Regions from separate parts of the Homo sapiens genome. Here region 1 is linked to region 2. Evidence: promoter capture Hi-C in 16 types of primary human blood cells and fetal thymus (Javierre and others, 2016). All regions are on one chromosome and are shown on one strand. Each heading gives the region's core, a stretch centred on a gene start or on the middle of the fragment in contact. The rest is flanking DNA. Distances are from core to core; before and after follow the strand shown.

Region 1 (2,700 bases), core at 40-2,539, 77 kb before region 2:
ACGCCACCACCCACCCCCAGCATTCACAGCCCTACAGCAGTTTACAGCTTATGCTGCGGAGGCCCTGCTTTCTCTTGGTCATTTCTTGCTCCGACCCTTCAGAATAGGTTATTGGCCCCATTAGGGAGCCAATGGGGATTTCAGGCTCAGGGAGTTGAAGTCCCTTGACTAAAGTTATAGGACAAGTGGCCTGGCTCTCTATCTAGAATCCAAGTATCCCAACTTCCACTCCAGAGCTCACATCAAATATATGCTCCCACTAGCTCCGCAGCCCAGTGTCCCTACAAAGGCCCTGGCCCAGAGTGGGGGCACCCCACCAGTTGGGAAGGGCAGTCAGATTCAGCCGAGGAGTTCCTCCCTCTTTCTTCTAGGTGCACAGTAGGCCCTTCATGAAAGTTTCTCTGCCCCCACCTTCCTTTCTTATTCTCTCCTTTCCTTCCTCCTTCCTTCCCCAGGAAGTCTCCAAACCATCCCTGTTTTGTGTCCAAAGCAGCACTGCAGATATCTCCCCTCCCTCTCTCTTCCTGTTTCTTCTGGCAGACCAGGAGGAAAGGGACCCAGGAGCCCAAGATCCAAACTCCCAGTAGTATAAACACTGGATGTTCTGTGGTGCGTCTGCCACCCACTGCAGCCTCATCTGTCATCTGGTTGTCCTAAGGCTTCCACCTTCCCCACTCAGCCAGGGGCCCTCCCTTGGAGAGGCCGACCTCAATTGCTTAGACTAGGGGTATCCAATCTTTTGGCTTCCTTGAGCCACACTGGTAGAAGTAGAAGTGTCTTGGGCCACATGTAAAATACGTTAACACTAACGATAGTGGATGAGCTAAAACAAAAATTGCAAAAAAAAAAAAAATCTCATAATGTTTTAAGAAAGTTTATGAATTCATGTTGGGCTACATTCAAAGCCATCCTGGGCCACAGGTAGCCTGTGGGCTGGACAGGCTTGGCTTAGACAGTCTACCCCCCAACCCAGTTTGACTCTTGAGACTCCCAAGGTCCCCTCCCCTGCTCTGTGGCCTCCTCGTGGATGGCCACTTGCAGTCTGCTCTGTAGGTGCTCTGGTGCAGGGCTGAGACCCCAGGCATCTAAAGAGAGTAGACATTGTGGTGGAGAGAATTAGAAAGGAGCCTGGATTTCTCCAAATGGGGGGCCCTCCTGGGAGGCTCTGGCCCTTGGACAGTGGGAGTGAGAATTGGCAGATGGGGAGGGACCCTTAGAAAGGGTGCCAGGGCTTCTCCTACCTGTGGGGCTTCTGCCTGTGGCTTGGGAGCTGTCTCTTTGCTCCAGCTGAGTGGCCTCACTCCCAGGCTGCCTTTAAGCCCCAGTGGCCTCTAGCCCCCAGCTCTTTGGTCCCGCCTCCCCCCTTCCTCTCCCTCTTCCACCCCACCCCCACTTCAAGAGTCTTGGGCTGCCTGAAGAGCATTGTTTACTGGCCTGTTGGTACAACACTTTACCCTAGACTGGGAGGCTCGGATTTCCCGTGGAAGATCTGACAGGTGGCACCTTTCAATCACGGCACGTCCCTTCCGCCCTGAGCCTGGCAGCATCCGTCCTGTGGTCATCTTTCTCCCCAGTGGACTCTCCTAACCCTAGGGACCTTGACAACCATCTTCAGGACTCATTTAGAGCATGGCCCTGGCCTCCACTGCTCATCCAGAGCCCAGGCGAGGCCTCTTGTGCTCCCTTCACACCCACCCCGCCACGTTCCTTACATAGCCCCTTTCCCTCGTCCTCAGACAAAAGCAGCTGCTTAAGGCTGGGCTAAGGAGGGGGCGAGTAGGGCAGCTGCCAACACAGGGGATGTGTCTTGGGGCTCACAGTTGACTGAGAGATTTGGAGGGGGAGGGGCAGAGAGGGCAAAAGTGATGGGACAAGCTGACGGATCACTGGACGGAGCCTGGAAAATACAAAACTCCTGAGTTCTATTTTGAGCTGAAGTGACAGGTACACAGTAGGCTCTGAACACATTTTTATACTGAACTGACATTTTGCTAAGAAAAAAACAAAACAAGCCTGGGCATGGTGGCTCATGCCTGTAATCCCAGCACTTTGGGCAGCCGAGGCGGGTGGATTGCTTGAAGCCAGGAGTTCAAGAACAGCATGGTCAACAGGGTGAAACCCTGTCTCTACTACAAATACAAAAATTGGCCGGGCTTGGTGGCGCATGCCTGTAATCTCAGCTACTTGGGAGGCTGAGGCACGAGAACTGCTTGAACCTGGGAGGCAGAGGTTGCAGCAAGTCACTGCACTCCAGCTTGGGTGACAGAGACTCCATCTCAAAAAAAAGTCTTCACTTTCTCTGTGTGTTTTACAATCTAAGAAAGGCACTACTTTTGGAGAATGGGTGCAGAGGACACTCCCACGAAGCTTGGGATCCCCCCCAGTCCTCCTACCCCAAGCCCCACCACTGGGCCACACTGGCCTCCTTCCTATTCCTTAAATAAATCCATCCCTTTTCAGACTCAGGACTGGTTTTTCCTTCTACTCTTTGTAAGACTGCCTCCCTCTCATTCTTCTGGACTTAGCTGAAATTTCATTCCCTCAGAGAGGTTTTCCATGACCTTCAATTCCTCTCCCTCATTTCAGCAGTTTTTATTGTCCTCATAATACTAAATCTAAAATTACCTTATTCATTTCCTTATTATCTGACTCTCTCACTAGGCTTTAAGCTCCATGAGGGCAGGGATTTTATCTACCATA
Region 2 (2,700 bases), core at 122-2,621:
CCCTCTCTCTCAGCCTTTCTCTTCCTCCTCCTCTTCCCTCCTCTCCAGCCCCTCTCCCATCCATGGTTCCCTGTCTCCAACCCTCTTCGCCGGTTCCTGATACCCCTTCTCTAGTCACCATCCCCATCCTTCTCTGGTTTCTGATCTTTCCATTCTCCTTTTCCATTCCAGTCCCCAGGGTCCCAGTCCTGATTCTCTTTCCCGCTACCTCCATCCCAGGATTCTGGGTCCCTGTCCATAGTCTTCTTCCCATCCCTCCCCTGATCTGGTCTTTCCTCTCCTTCCCTCTTCCTTGGTCTTCACCTGGGTCCCACTTCCCTCCACGCTTTTCCCATCTAACCTTTATTCCTTCTCCCCCTCCCCCGCTCCATCTCCCTCCTCCTTTGAGCTTCCCTCACCACTTTCTCCATCTTTGAGTTCTCCTTCCTATCCCTCTCCCCCTGACCCCTCCCCACCCCACCCCCAGTCTCTGGCCCACACCCTTATCTGTCACTCAATCAGTAGAACTATCCTCTTTCTAGCGCCCTCCATCTCTCCTACCAGAGAGGGCCACTTGGATTTCCCTCTGCGCCTCCTACCTCCCCAGACAGCCCCCTACCCACATCTCCTGTCTTCCCAGGTGGCCAGAAAGTGCTGAGGCACCGGGCAGGAGGAGTTGCTGAGTCGGCGCTTCCCCAGCCGGCCCGAGTCCTCAGCGTCCCCCGGAGCAGGTGGAGCGGGGACAGCGGAACCTGAGCCTCCCTCCCCGCTCCGGGCCGGGTCCACCTGCCCCCTGCGTCCCACCTCGGTCACGAGCTCCTCGCACGCGCCCGCGGGCTCCCAGCCAAGTGCCCTCCTGCTGAGAACAGCCCTGGCGGCGGGGGCGCGGCCCCAGCGCTGAGCTTTTCCCCTTCCCCAGGTTACCCCACCTCCCCAACTGCCCCACCCTCAATCCCTGAAAGAGGGGACGCCCTGCTTCTCTCCCCAGGATGCCCTCCGCTCTCCCGCCGCTGGCGTTCTTACCTTGCAGCAGGCGCCTGAGCCCGGGCAGCATCTTGTCTCGATGCTCGGGGGAGGGGGCAGCGGGGGGAGGGCGCTCCCACTCGCTCCCTGAGCCCGCCGGATGCACGGCGGGGACCCCGCGGGGCTCCGGGAGGGCCCGGGAGTCCCCGGGCTGCGTGGCCGGGCCGCGGCGCTCTACCCTGCGCCGCCCGGGCTGCGGGCCTCGGGAGGAGCCATCGGCCCCGACGGGACGGGGCGGGGCGCGACGGGGCGGGGAAGGCTGGGGCTGGCCGTCGACGCCCAGCGCCCGCGCCCCGCTAGCTGCGCTGTCCGCTCGAGAGTCCGTCAGTCCGTCTGTCCGTGTGCCCAGGCTGCTAGCCGAGGGAGAGTGGGGACAGCGAGGAAGCTCTTCCCAACCACCCCCACTCCTTCCCGCACTCGCTGGCTCCTCCCTCGTTTGCTGGCTTGCCGACTTAACCCTTTCTCGACCACTAGGAGGCGGGAGCGGCTTTCTAACCCCCTCCACCCCGCCCCCCTCCCCCCCGCTTAAGCGACCCGGAGGACTGTGTTCGATCGTCCTCGCGGCGCCACTCTTCTAGAGAAATCCCTTCTTGGGGGAATGCGGTAGTTTAGAGGAACGCCGTGGACTTGTCCTGTTCCCCCCTCCCAACTTTCCAGGAGAAGATGAGCTTCTGGGTCACCCCCTCCCCCGCCCCCAGCCGCGTCCCTCGCGCCAGTGTCCCAGCCTCCAGCATTTCTGTCCCCTGGGACAGCTCCAAGATTCCACTTTTCCTTCCACTCCCAGACCTCAAGCCCAGTGTGCGACTATAAGAATAGTATATGCAAGAGTTTGTGCGTGCAAGATCGAGTGCATATGAGCGTGCACGTGCGCGCAAGGATGCTTGTGCAGGTGTGACTCAGGATGCTTGCCCGTTACCCTTTGTACGGGCTTGGGGAAGCGGGGGGGGGGGCACGTGAGTGTGCACACGGGTGAGCCGCTGAAAGTCCGCCAGCGTGCATGTCTGAGCTGGTGGGAAACGTGAGGCTGTGCGAGGTTTTGCGCTTGCGATCTTGGGGATGGGTGGAAAGAAATATGTGCCCGGTGTGTGTATGCCCCTTAGTGCATTTACAAGCGGGTGCGAGATGGGCGCGCGTGCGAGTGTGTGCGTTTTTTTGTGTATGTATGATGTGTCCGGGAGGGGAGACCTTATCTCCCGCGGGGGTGCAGGAGAGGACCCAAAGCTGGGGAGAAGACTGTTGGCTTCGCGTGAACTTCCTCTACCCCCTTTTAAAGAGGGGCGGATTATGGTCTCACTGGAGCCCCTCTGGCCCTTCATGGCCTGGTCACAGGCGGTATCAGCAGACCCATCACCTAGGCACTTCCCTACAAAGGCTGCAGGGCGGTTGACCCAGGTCTTGACTCGGCCCGGCGCGTCCGCGGAGCCGCCCCGGCGTAGGATAGGCTCGGGGCCCTCGGGGGAGCCGCTTCGGGTACGGTGGCCAGGCAGCGCTGGCGGGGTTGGGGCTGCTGGAGCCTCAGGTGCGGCGGTGCCGGGGCTGCTGAGCCCCCTGGGCTGCCGCTCCCGCGAGCACAGAAGCCCCTCGCCCCGCTGCCCGCGCCGCGGCTCCTCCTTTCCTATCCGTGCCAGGGTCCAATGCAGTGCCTGGCATACAGTCGGCTCTTGATAAATGTTGGTCTTATTCTTCCCATTCATTCTC

The links. The method cuts DNA at HindIII sites, captures the fragments that hold promoters and counts their contacts. A CHiCAGO score of 5 or more calls a contact.
Region 1: the fragment with the promoter of SMTNL1 here is called in contact with the fragment with the promoter of RTN4RL2 in region 2 in 1 of 17 cell types (neutrophils); the score reaches 5.8 in neutrophils.

Annotation. Positions count from the first base shown.
Region 1 is chr11:57,536,184-57,538,883 of GRCh38, reverse strand. SMTNL1 (smoothelin like 1) reads right to left here and starts at 1,289. Exons shown (of 8, transcript NM_001105565.3): 1 at 1,242-1,289. The HindIII fragment of the contact is 14,036 bases long and covers 1-2,369 here.
Region 2 is chr11:57,459,199-57,461,898 of GRCh38, reverse strand. RTN4RL2 (reticulon 4 receptor like 2) reads right to left here and starts at 1,371. Exons shown (of 3, transcript NM_178570.3): 1 at 1,003-1,371. The coding sequence starts at 1,033. RefSeq lists silencers at 1,095-1,364, 2,464-2,523. The HindIII fragment of the contact is 14,932 bases long and covers 1-2,700 here.